Linked DNA regions of Homo sapiens: regions 1 and 3 are each linked to region 2. The links are contacts of gene promoters, found by promoter capture Hi-C in blood cells and fetal thymus (Javierre and others, 2016). All regions are on one chromosome and are shown on one strand. Each heading gives the region's core, a stretch centred on a gene start or on the middle of the fragment in contact. The rest is flanking DNA. Distances are from core to core; before and after follow the strand shown.

What was found. Contacts are between HindIII fragments. The CHiCAGO score rates a contact against its expected background, and 5 or more counts as called.
Region 1: a fragment that was not itself captured here is called in contact with the fragment with the promoter of PAXBP1 in region 2 in 1 of 17 cell types (M2 macrophages); the score reaches 5.0 in M2 macrophages.
Region 3: a fragment that was not itself captured here is called in contact with the fragment with the promoter of PAXBP1 in region 2 in 1 of 17 cell types (M2 macrophages); the score reaches 5.0 in M2 macrophages.

Annotation. Positions count from the first base shown.
Region 1 is chr21:39,209,229-39,213,512 of GRCh38, forward strand. It overlaps BRWD1 (bromodomain and WD repeat domain containing 1), which reads right to left. Exons shown (of 41, transcript NM_033656.4): 33 at 4,253-4,284; 34 at 3,438-3,479; 35 at 1,558-1,701; 36 at 767-919. Among named protein-coding and RNA genes, the nearest start is that of PSMG1, 28 kb to the left of the region's middle. The HindIII fragment of the contact is 2,449 bases long and covers 161-2,609 here.
Region 2 is chr21:32,769,401-32,774,146 of GRCh38, forward strand. It overlaps PAXBP1 (PAX3 and PAX7 binding protein 1), which reads right to left and starts at 2,355. Exons shown (of 18, transcript NM_016631.4): 1 at 1,926-2,355; 2 at 414-542. The coding sequence starts at 2,268. It overlaps EPCIP-AS1 (EPCIP antisense RNA 1), which reads left to right and starts at 2,700. Exons shown (of 4, transcript NR_024623.1): 1 at 2,700-2,908. RefSeq lists an enhancer at 2,022-3,011. The HindIII fragment of the contact is 7,946 bases long and covers 1-3,212 here.
Region 3 is chr21:39,251,059-39,255,311 of GRCh38, forward strand. The region is part of intron 19 of BRWD1 (bromodomain and WD repeat domain containing 1); the gene reads right to left. Among named protein-coding and RNA genes, the nearest start is that of BRWD1, 60 kb to the right of the region's middle. The HindIII fragment of the contact is 9,465 bases long and covers 1-4,253 here.

The DNA of each region.
Region 1 (4,284 bases), core at 135-2,634, 6.4 Mb after region 2:
CCTCTCCTTTCCTTCCATTAATCACCTGCTAATCTCAGAATCCATGCCCTGAACCTTTTCTTTAAAAAAAAATAAAAAATAAAAATACTGCTTTAAAGCCAGCACCGGAGTCAGATTTGAAATTCACTCCTGTCTCCTTAGGAGTCAACTTTCAATATAAAGCTTATTCTCAAAAACCCAGTGTCACCACTTCACTTGAGTAGGCTAGAAAAAAAAAAAAAAGAAAAAGAAAAACCCTGTGTCATAATATTAGCTTCTAACACATCAAGCAAAGAGCCTCCACTGGCTCTGTAACATTATTTGTGGTCTTAATCTGATAGCTCATGTGTTCCTTCTTCAAATCCAAATGTTCTTATGCTGTCAGCAGTCTCACAATCAGATTTTCCTTTTTACTTTTAATATTCTTACAGTCTCGATCTATGTTTCCAATCCACTTAAGATCCTTATACATACAAAACACAGAGACTCTTACTCTGTGTATCAAATTTGTTCACTTTCTATTGATGCCTACTCCCATTAATCCCCACTTGCTTATAAAATTTGAGGAGATTATGATAAACATCAACTGATGAAAGGCAAAAACTGAAGCTATATGAGCAGTAGCAGAAGCTCTTTTCTTTATAATAGTCTTAATTTATTCACTTATCTTTAATGTTCTAACCTCTATTACACAGTGGAAAATTACACTGGAAAAAATTACTATTACATTGGAAAATTATCTACACAGATCAGGCAGTTTTTTTCAATAAACCACATAAAAAATTACCTTTGATCTTTTGTTTGGTGTATACGCTTTTGCATTGCTAAATATCAGCCGGATGTCTTTGCAAAACTCCAAAGGGCTGTCATAATTTCCCGCATCTAGAGTTTCCCTTACTGTTCCAAAATCCATTGGGGTATCTATAATATCTCTGTAGTCCTAGGTTTTAAACACAATATTTAATTCATAGATTCATTTCTTGCTTTTAGAAATGTAAATGCATCAGATCTCTAAAAAATGTGAAATGATGGAAGAGAGGAAAAGGTTAGAGGACTCTTAAAATTCATTAGTAATGTTTAAAAAGAGGTATAAAAACAAAGAAAAGATAGAAATATACCAAAATGTTAATGTCTATTTATTGTTAGTGACACATGGGATGGTTTTATTTCCTGCTGTATGTACTCCAAGCATCCTACAGTCACTCTGTGCTGTTATAATCCAACTTTTTTTATAAAGTCATCTTTCAATTTCCCTTTTTAAAGAGTGCAAACAGACACGTTTATCCAATTCACAGTTCTCCTAGTGCTGGGCCTACTTAGATAGAAATCTAAGTAGATCCATCCCACTGTTATGTAATACTGATTATCTAAGTCTAAATTCTTAAATGAGCTCACAAGGGTGTCTATAAATTGAAGAAAACTATGTAAAAACAATACTTCTACCACTAACTTAGTGATAGGAGCAAAAAAGTTAACATAAAGCCTGGGTATCTTTCTCTTTAAAGTTTAATAACTCTACCCCAGTTTCCTCACTGCAAAACAAGAAAAGCCCCAAACATTTAAACAATGGAAACTTACTGGATATTCAACCAAATCAACAGGTTGTCTAAATGGTTCAGAATCTTCACACTGAAAAATTAAGTTCACTAGTTCCTTACACTGTTTCTTCCAGTTGCTTTCAACATAGTTCGTAGCTCTGATGCTTTTTTTCCCATCATGGACCTAAAAATACATTCACAGTCTTAAGAAAAATCACACTATTGGTGTAAGACTGTGGTAAAAATGTAACTGATCTACTGTCTTCTATAAAAATACAATAATGTCATATATGTTGCTCTCAACACATTTTTCCAGAAATGAAATTTTTAAACTATGCATGAAACGTAAGTTATTTTCATATAACTTAACCAATTTCAGAAATATTACAAAGTTAGCTATGAAAAGCATACTCTAACAAGAGCACATTATCTAGTGAAAGGCTATTCCATGACCTCTCACCTCCCAGGTTTATAATATTTGTTTTCGCAGAATATGAAGCACATCTGATAATATGATAGGCAGAATAATGGCCCCACCAAAGATGTCCACATCATAATCCTCATAACCTATGACTATGTTGCCTTACATGAGAAAAGGTATTTTGCATTAAGGGTATAGACCTTGAGATGAAAGATTATCTTGAATTGATTGCTTGGACCCAGTATAGCCACAAAAGTTATTATAAGAGGGAGGCAGAAAGGTCAGAGTCAGAGAGAGACTGAAAAATGCTACATTGTTGGCTTGAAAGATGGAACAAGGTGACCTGGAGCCAAGGTGAGGACACCCACTAGAAGCTGGAAAATGCACATAACTCTCCCTGGAGCTTCTGGCCACACCAAGACCATGATTCTGACCTAGAGACCCATGAAAACTTCTAATCTACAGAACTATCAGGTAATACATTTTTATTATTTAAGCAACTAAATTTGTCATTTGCTGCAGCAGACATAGCAAATAAATACAAATACTAAACACTTGGGAGTCTAGAAATAAAATTAAACGAAAATGACTAATCAAATTAGAGTATTTTAGGTATAACTTTTCAGTGTTCTGGAAGGCAAGCACATGGTATAAATTAATATTTCATAAAAAGCTTAAATTTAAGGAGCATTTGGAGGAAATTTAAAATGATCTGGGCTAAAATGTCTTAAGCATTTTCATATTAATAACCTTTAATTTTAATTACTCTATATTTGAACTTCAAAGCCTGCCGATACTCCATTATGATTACCCACTTTCATAAACTTAGTTCCATAGACCCTTCTCCTTACCCCTCAACCTCATCATCCCAACATATCTCCATTGTTAAAAAAAGTTCAGTCACCAAATCCTAGTTAGTTTTCCCTAAAAAGGTGTCATAATTTTCCTTTCCTCTCCATTCCAAGCAAATATCCTTGACTAGGTACCCGTCCTTCACCCTATATTCTTGGAATAAACTCCTAATTCATCTCCTTTAATACACATCTTCTTATCCTTCAAATTGTATTATCTATTTTGGCTGTTCAATTGATTCTCTACTTTAAATGAAATCCTTGGATTTCAATATCACCATAATCTACCCCAATCATAACAGCCAGACACAGCCACTTTGATCACTTCAACATCCAACCTCTACACCAGTCAGGTGTAGTTCCCTTAACAGTCTATGGACATGCCATGCCATATTTCTCTACTTTTTTTGTCTTTCCTGTGGTAGCCTCTATTTTTTGAATGGCCTCTTCTTACTCCATCTCACTCTGATAATACAGTACAAATTCCAACTCTCCCACTAAATCTTTCCAGTAATTTCTCCCATTTTGCTAATAAAATATTCAGTATCTACACTGATATAACTTTTCAAAGACAAAAACTAAAATCCTGAATTGATTTTAAAACAAAGAAAAAGAAACTACAAAAGTCAACCATGCAGAGTAACTTACTCTCCTCCTTCCAGAAGATGTTTTAGGAAGATCACTATCATCCTAGGAATAAAATCAGAGCACCTTAAGTATTTAGAGTCTCATTAGAAAATAATAACATAATCTTAATAAATAACATATCAAAGACATTTGGTATTACCAGAGTTATAACATGTTATTATCAAAATCTCCAAAGAAAGACTACCAGATGATCTTTGTGGCACCCAGGCTTGAAAAAAAAAAATCATTCTTAATAATCCTTTTTCATTCCCTAAGAACATGAACTAATTCTAAAATTTGAAATTACAGCTATAAAAAGACGCTTCATGCATTTCCTAAATAGAAAACTTGTGTTTTACCTCTATCCACAAATCCCCAGAAACATACAGATTCCTATAGTTTCTGCATTTTGTGTTCTATAGTACAGGCATGCACTACCACCCCCATCTAACTTTTTTATTTATTGTAGAGACAGGGTCTCAAACTCCTGGCTCAAGCAATCTTCCCATCTCAGCCTGCTAAAGCACTGGAATTACAGGTGTGAGCCACTGTGCCCAGCCTCCAAGGTACTTTATATAATACACCTTTCACTAGCTAAAATATAGAAAGAGAATATATTCCACACCTAAAGTTATTCACTTAGATATATTTTGATATTAGCTAAAACAAATTACCTCATAAATCATCTAGAAAATTCAAAAATATAATTTTATCAAATGCCCTATTTGTTCATTGGACTACTACAAGAGTTGGTACTACAAAGCCAACATTTTCTTCACTTTAAAAATACCATTTGAAATTAACAAAAACCATTATAAAATCAACAAACTTCATACCAAATCCTCAGCATTTTGCTCATCATTTTCAG
Region 2 (4,746 bases), core at 1,105-3,604:
CTCTAAGAATAAAATCCACTGTGGAAATACCACCAAAGAAATCGCAAATCTGTCTCTACAAAATACAAGAATTTGCACAACACTCCTTCAAACAGAAATAAACCTGTGTCTTAGGCTAAAATGAGAAACCTTCTTTCTCTGTTCAACAGCAGTCTGCACACAAGTAGGAAAACTGTGAGAGAATCTAGTCATTGCAGCAGAAATGTTCCAGTGGCAACAATTCTGTCTTCTTATAAAATACATTTACAAAGCATCTGTGTTACAATTAAATAACAGAACTGTACTGCTACTCAATAAGGGCCCTTGACAACCACAGGGTCCACTGAATGAGTTCAGAAGATATACAGCAAATCACTGTGAGAAAGAGCTTTCATTTTGTCATTTCAAAAGAATTCAATTAGTTTGGTACTTACTTTCAGCTGATGAGTTGAGTTCTGTCTTAATCTTCGATTTTTCAAGATCTTCTTTATATTCCTTCTTGAGCAATTTTACTATCTTTTTGCTATAACTTGATTTCTTCACTTTGAAAACTTCTTCATTTTCTTAAAAAGGAAATTAAATGAAGTCTGTAGCAACTATTTTCTGAAAATATTTTCCCTTCTTTCACATGATCTTACGTGCTGTCCAAATTATCCCAAATATATATACTCATATGCCAAAATCATTGTATAATTATTTCAAGTCTGTCACAGACTCAAAAACAGAGGTCAACTTCCTAAATTACTGTGAAGTAATGAGATTTTTGAGACTTTTTAAAGGAATAGCACATGTAACTTCACAAAATTTTCCTATTATTGTCGTCCTTAAATCATCTATTTGAGAGGGGAAAAAATCATTCAAAATGTTTCTGAAAAACCACATCACCAAGTTATTAACGAATCCGAAACAAAATATCTAAAATAAAAAGGTGCTGTCAATTCTGAGTAACTACATCCACCACAAGCTGACATAGTGGTTTTAAAGCTAAGGTAAGGGCAAATCACTTTTCTTTGATTTGAAATTTTAAAAGTACTAAATACTTAAAAAAAAATAGCTCATGTATCTCAAAAACAAAAATCTGTCTGTACTCCTCTCAAACCAAATAAAGAGTAACAGAAATGCCAAAGATAAACTACCTACCTTACTGGAAACCTCTCGAATAAAAATGCAAGATTTACAAAACTTAATTTCTTTTTTCGTAACATGGAATTAACTGGGTTATGCACATTCAAATGGTCAGAAGAAAAGATTTAAGGCTCATTTAAGATCAGCAATCTAAAACCACTGCAGCCTGGCCTCCCACAGGAATTGGAGAAACTACCTTGCTTTTACTATTTTTACACCGTCTCGCTTCACTGTTCCCAAAGTCAGTGCGAAGAAGGCTGGGTATCTGCTACCCCTAATTACTTTTATGGGTAAACTGAGGCTCAGCGACTGCAAGGGACTGGCCCAAGGTCACTCAGAACCAGAGCTGCAACTCCAGGCTTCTGTTCCCTCTCCTAGTATTCCTTTTTACAAACTCGGCCTTCATGGTCGAGGATGCCTGGACAGAGCATCCAAGAAGTGTGGGCGCAGTGACCTGCAGAGGGCTCGGAAAGCATGCCAAGAGCAGCCAGGGGACCCACACCAAGTTGGCCCTGAAACACGCCAGGCAGAAAAGAGGCAGGACAGGGAACACCGAATTTCCCCTGAAACACTCTGAATGCCTGATCTGAGCTCCGGCCCCGTGGCAGAGGAGGTGGTTAAGAAAAGGCTGGGGGCAGCGCGGGAACGCGTCCCTTGCCCGAGCAGAAGGCCGGAGGCTGGGGAAGATTCGCAGCCGGTCGGACGGCAGGGGACTCCGTTCCAGGGCTCCGGGGCTGGGCGTCCAGAGAATACGGGGGCGGGGGACGGGGGCCTGCGTCGGGGATGCGGCCGTCTAAGGGCGTCCGAAGCGCGCACTTTACCTTCCTCCTCGTCCTGGAAGCTGAGCAGGCTGGCCCGGGGCACCTCTTTGTTCTCGCGAGGCCTCTTGCGCGGCTTCAGCCCGTTGCCGGGCTCCGCGCCGCCGGGGAAGCCGCCCCCGGCCTCAGCCCCGAGGCCCGGGGTCAGCGCGGAAGGCGGCGACGGCCCCGGGCCCAGCAGCGACTCCCCGCCAGGGGCCCTGTCGCCGCCACCGGGGCCCGCCTCTTCGCCCGTGCCCGGCGGCGGCAACAACGGCGGCGGCTCCTGCTCCTCATCGCGTTCCCGCTCTTCCTCTTCGGAGTCGTTCCGCTTGCGCACGTTCACCCGCCGGGCCTTTCGGAACATCCCCGCGGCCCGCACGGCGGTCGAATACTCGCTTCCACACCGCGGCCCCGGCAGCGCCGAGCTCGTGACGGCGCACGCGCGCTCTCCGGAGCTCCAGCCGGGTCGAGTCCTCTGTTGCTACCGCGCACCCCACGAGCGCGCATGCGCCTATGCTCCCACGCGCTCTCAATACTTGGAGAAAGAGAGAGAGTGAGAGAGAGAGAGAGAGAGAGAGAGAGAGAGAGAGAGAGAGAGAGAGAGAGAGAGAGAGAGAGAGAGAGAGAGAGAGAGAGAGAGAGAGCGAGAGAGAGAGAGAGAGAGAGAGCGAGAGAGAGAGAGAGAGCCCCACACCTCTCGCGAGAGCGTCGGCTCTTTGCATCGCTCTCTGTCGGAGTGGAGTACTATTAGCATGGAACTCTGGTGTTGTTTGACAGGTCACAAAGAGGATCATAGAGATGAGAAGAAAGAGTAGGCTCTGTTGTCCCTCAGACGGCGCTGCTGCAGTGCGTCTTCGCACTTACGCGGAGCGGTAATGTGAGGAAGCCTCCCGCCAAACAGATGAGGGAGGAGGAGGAGGGGAGAGGCCAGAGAGAGAAGCGGCTTTCGGGAAGGAAAGTGTGATCTAGTAGGTGGAATAGTCCTCTCCAAACTTTGACCTGAGGTGTGACTATTGGTAATTACTAGTTATTCTTGAGTAATACTTTGTATTTCTACAGCTTTATAGCTACAGAGCTCTTAGAAAGACATTGAATTTTATTTATGATACAATGTTACTTCAAAGACATTGAATTTCATTTATGGTACAATGTTACTTCAAAGACATTGAATTTCAGTTATGATACAATGTTACCTGGCTTGATGTCCCCCGTTCCCCAGTCTTTCAGGAACAAGGAAAGCAAAAGTGTTTCCGTGTTTTCTAAAGAATGCCAAGTTTGCAAGCAATTCTATGACTAAATACTTTCCAAAGCTTAGTGAGTTTCAGAAACAAGTGGAAGGAAAATAGAGCAGGGGGTGGGGAAGGTTGTGACAGTTCTCAGACTTGCGTGACAAAGCCCTCGCTGGCCACACCTTCACAGGGTGATTGCGCCTAAGGTTGAACTCACCGGCTTTCCCTATCTCATCACCGAACTAGAAGTTTTTCCTTCGGGCATGCACCTGTGCATGCGAATTCATTTTGATGTTTCGAAATTAAAAGGGTATTCGGTAGAGTGAAAAAAATCCACCCATGTCTGGAAGGCTGTTCACTTCCTCAGTGGCAATGTTAACAGTTTCTTATGATCCTCTAAAGATGTTCCATGAACATAAAAGCAAATAAATATGCATATTTTAATGTGTTCCCCTTTTTACACAGATGGTGTGTAAGCTGCATTTTTAGCCTACCGTAGATTGGAGATCGGCCCATATCTGTATATGAAGGGTTGTGTTTTTTTGGTTTTTTGTTTGTTTGTTTTGAGACTAAATTTCGCTCTTGTCGCCCAGGCTAGAGTGCAATGGCGCGATCTCCGCTCACTGCAATCTCCGCCTCCCAGGTTCAAGTGATTCTTCTGCCTCAGCCTCCCTAGTAGCTGGGATTACAGGCACGTGCCACCACGCCCAGCTAATTTATTTTGTATTTTTGTATTTCACTCTGTTGGCCAGGATGATCTCAATCTCTTGACTTCGTGATCCGCCCGCCTCAGTCTCCCAAAGTGCTGGGATTACAGGCGTGAGCCACCGCGCACGGCCGTCTATTTTTTTTTTTAACCCACCTGCGTAGTGATTCATTGTTGGGATATACCGTAATTTATTTAACCAGTTCCATAAACATTGATATTTAGATTATTTCTAGTCTTAATCAGTGCTGTAATGAAAAGCTTTGAAAAACTGTTACATCTGTAGGATGAAATAGAATTGAAATTGCTAGATCTCAATATATGCATTTATGATTTTGCTAATTCTAAATTTCTTTTTATAGAAGTTATGCAGTTTGCACTTATATCAGCAAACATTAGGATGCCTGTTTGCCCACACCATCCTGTAGAAATTTCAGTAAGATTTAAATTCCAGGTTGAAGTGGAAGATCCCGAGCACTCCAAGCATTTCTTTTTATTTTATTTATTTATTTATTTATTATTTGTTTGAGACGGAGTCTTGCTCTATGGCCCAGACTGGAGTGCGGTGGCACGATCTCAGCTCACTGCAACTTCTGTCTCCCATGTTCAAGCTATTGTCATGTCTCAGCCTCCCGGGTAGCTGGGATTACAGGCATCTGGCACCACACCCGGCTAATTTTTGTATTTTTGTTTTGTTTTGTTTTGTTTTTTAAGACGGAGTCTTGCTCTTCTCGCCCAGGCTGGAGTACAATGGCACGATCTCAGCTCACTGCAACCTCTGCCTCCTGTGTTCAAACGATTCTCTTGCCTCAGCCTCCCGAGTAGCTGGGATTACAGGCACCTGGCACCACACCTGGCTAATTTTTGTATTTTTAGTAGAGACGGGGTTTTGCCACGTTGGCCAGGC
Region 3 (4,253 bases), core at 412-2,911, 6.5 Mb after region 2:
TCTCAGAGGCAGTTAAACCTATTTTTCATATCAGAGGCAAAAATATTCATTCGTTTTCTGATTGGTACTATCAGGACCAATTCAAACAGAATCTCCCATAATAGCTTTTCAAAACGTCTTCATGATTTTCCAAGATTGCAATTCCTTTCTCTAAAGAAAAAATAAGCAGAGTCTGCCTTCTCCACATTTATTCAAGCTATGTTTGATAATTTATAGAAAACAAGAATAGCAATGTTACTGGTTTTTCTAATCACCTATATTTCACTCACATGATACAACAAAAAGATTATGTTATTGTGACCAATTTCAAAGCAAAGGACCTGCCACCAAGAAGAAGGTACTAAAAATCATTTTTCTTCTCTGGAAAAGACTGACTGTCCCTTTTCTCCAACTGGAACATTATTAAAAACACGTGGCTTTTATGTTTTTGTTTACTTTAACATCTCAAAGGAAAAAGATTTATACTGAAATCTTGGCCATGTTCCAAGGTATAACTAGACACTCAACAGAGTGTAAGAGTAAATGCTGTAAGGATAAAAACTGATTTTTAAGAACACTGCATTTTTCTCTAAGTACGCCAGACAGCCCACACTCAAGATTACAGTAGAACATTATTTTATCCAGCGGGGATTTCTAAAGCAGACTCAACCTTTCACAGGTTGTCAATTTCACTGCTTTATGTGTGTTTAAGGAACCATATAACGAGATTTTCAGCTTGCAGCCAAATGAAAGTCCCACCTGATATCTGTATGTTTCCCTTTGACAATAAAGCAATACATACAATTGATTCTCAATCAATAAAACAAAGGAACACTTGACATAGGTATCATTTTCAGCTGCATGCAATTTTACTCCTAATGAGATGGTCAGCTAAGAAAAGTGGTATTAGCAAAGATCATAGAGTGTATATAAAAGAATTTTTATACGGCCGGGCGCAGTGGCCCACACCTGTAATCCCAGCACTTTAGGAGGCCAAGGTACATGGATCACCTGAGGTCAGGAGTTCACGACCAGCCTGGCCAACATGATGAAACCCCGTCTCTACTAAAAATACAAAAAATTAGCTGGGCTTGCCAGCTACTCTGGAGGCTGAGGCAGGAGAATCGCTTGAACCAGGGAGGTGGAGGCTGAAGTGAGCCAAGATCACACCATTACACTCCAGCCTGGGCAACAAAAGCAGAACTCCGTCTCAAAAAAAAAAAAAAAAATTTATAATGAATAGAATTTCTACCGTTATTGGATCAAGACAAACTACGTGCCTGAATCCTAGGCACAAAAAGAATTACTTATACTGGCAAGCAACATTATATGCTCATAGCTCTGCACAGCTGTCATTTACCTTTATGCTTTTATATCTATTACTCCAATTTTTCACATTGGACACAAACTTTTATAGTCAGAAAACAAATTTTTAAATACTCTTCATCCTTATCAAATGATATCCTAACATACAGTTATGAAAAATTCACCCTTGTTTCCACTATTGGAACTGTTGTCATGGGCAATGATCACCACATCTCAATCAATTATCGCCTTTATAAAATTTCACATGAGCTTTCTTTTAGAATAAAATGCTAGAAAGAGCTATGTTCTTTTTTGTGAAAATTATATTATGGCAGATAGCTAGCTGCCGTTCTCCTTTTCTTCCTTAGAAACACAATACCAATTTTTATCCAGGTTCTTTGCTGCTCTAAATAGATACTGTGTTACCTACTCTCCTCCTTAGCTTATTATGGTCAAATGACAACATTCTGGTCAATGAGTTATAAGCAGAAATGCCACATGGCTACTTAAAGTAAGTTCCTTTGACTAGAAATGCCCTTTTTGACATCTGAACATCTTTCTTCTTTTCTTCTAAATTTCAACCTACATCACAAATACAGATATGTAATAGCTACAGCTTCAGCAGCTATCTTGGACTATGCGGTGACCTTAAGACTAGAAGCCAAGGCTGGATGCGGTGGCTCACGCCTGTAATCCCAGCACTTTGGCAGGCCGAGGCAGGTGGATCACCTGAGGACAGGAGTTTGAGACCAGCCTGGCCAACATGGTGAAACCCCATCTCTACTGAAAATACAAAATTAGCCGGGTGTGGTGACCCATGACTGTAATCCCAGCTACTCTGGAGGCTGAGGCAAGAGAATCGCTTGAGCCCAGGAGGAGAGGCTGCAGTGAGCTGAGATCATGCCACTGCACTCCAGCCTGGGTGACAAAAGCGAAACTGTCTCAAAAAAAAAAAAAAAAAAAAAAAAAGGACTAGAAGCCAAGCTCCACGATGGGGATGAGAAACACAGGAGTCTAAGTTCCTGATTAACTGTGGAACCACTATTCCAGCCTTAGATTATTTCTAGTCTTCCTTCGGATAAGAAAATAAATGCTTGTGTTTTAAGAAACTAATTTTTCAGGTCTTTCTCTCTTGACACCTGTTTGCTTCCCTTGGTTTTGAAAAAGCATCCCAAAATGACACTTTTGGTTCTGATGACCATAAGACTTAGACGCCAATTTAAAACTTAATTACAGCATACTATATACATATTGATTTTCTGTATTTCTCATCACAATTCCACATTTTGCTTTTCACTATTTTCTAGTCCTTCCCAAATTCACAGAACAATATATAAGTACTATCTAATAACACTCCAGCATTCACTGAAACTCTTCTGGTTAAACATATAAAAACACAAAGATAAATTTACAAAATTATCTTCAAGCTATTAAGTTATTATGACATACAAACATGAGAAAATACTGAAACATTTTAGATATCATTCTAAAAAGTATTTCCTGTTTCCATTTCAATAACTCAAATCAGTACATTACAACTCAGCACCAAGGACACTACTGCCCATATTATAATTACAAAATATCATTTCTACACTTGATCTTAGCCAAAAGGCCAAGAAGCAATATAAAATATCATTTCTTAGGCTGGGCGTAGTGGCTCACACCTGTAATCCCAGCACTTTGGGAGGCCGAGGCAGGCAGATCACCTGAGGTCGGGAGTTCAAGACAAGCCTGACCAACATGGAGAAACCCCGTCTCTACTAAAAATACAAAATTAGCCAGGCGTGGTGGCGCATGCCTGTAGTCCCAGCTACTCGGGAGGCTGAGGCAGGAGAATCACTTGAACCCGGAGGCAGAGGTTGCAGTGAGCCAAGATCGTGCCATTGCACTCCAGCCTGGACGAGAGCAAAACTCTGTCTCAAAAAAATAAAAGAAATAACATTTCTTACTAAAAGAAAATAGGGCTGCTTAATTTCAGATATAGGTCAAAAATTTACAAGATGAACTATAATATCTTCCCCTGTCTCATAGTAAGGATGCTATGGAAAACTACTAGTCATTTTGAAAGGACAGGGAGCCTTAGAAAAGAGGCTCCTCATGGCTAGAAAAGAGATGATTTAAACATCAATAAAGAATATCAGAAATAAGTTAAACCCCAGCTATTTGATTTATACATTAAAACACACACACATACAAATTGGTCGCTGTTGAATAATGAAAAGGAATAAATCTTTATTTTGAGGGGAAATAAAGCAAAATAATCAAGCCATCTACTCTGCCTTTCCTACACAAACTTTGCTACTTGAAAACTAAGTATACTTGGGTTTCTTTTTTAGATTTCTTTTTCAGAAGTGTCCAAGATAATAAATGAAGAAGTTTTCATAGAGTTAAAAATCATGATTATACAACAGCTAATAAATTAATGAATCTACACATTAAGCACTGATAGCTGCTAACATCACAAAAACCGAGGAGGCTATTTATGTGTGCCTTCTGATAGAATTATCACTTATGAAGCAGTCTTGCAAAAAACTGAAAACATTTATGACACCTGAAACAACTGGAAATTTAAACACAGCCTGGATATTTGGTTATACTGAGAAACCAAGGTACGGTTTTTTTAAGGTGTGATAACAGCATTATTTTATATATTTTAAAATTTCTTATCTTTAGAAATACACACTTATACGCTTATGGACAAAAATAATATTACATCTAGAATTTCTTTCAAAATAATACTGAAAGGACAAAAGTGGGTGTGTGTGTGCATGGACAAAAAAAGACGGAGCCGGGCGTGGTGGCTCATGCCTGTAATCCCAGCACACTGGGAGGCTGAGGCAGGTGGAGCGCCTGAGGTCAGGAGTTCGAGACCAGCCTGGCCAACATGGTGAAACCCTGTCTCTACTAAAAATATAAAAAATTAGCTGGGTGTGGTGGCGGGCGCCTGTAAGCCCAGCTACTCAGGAGGC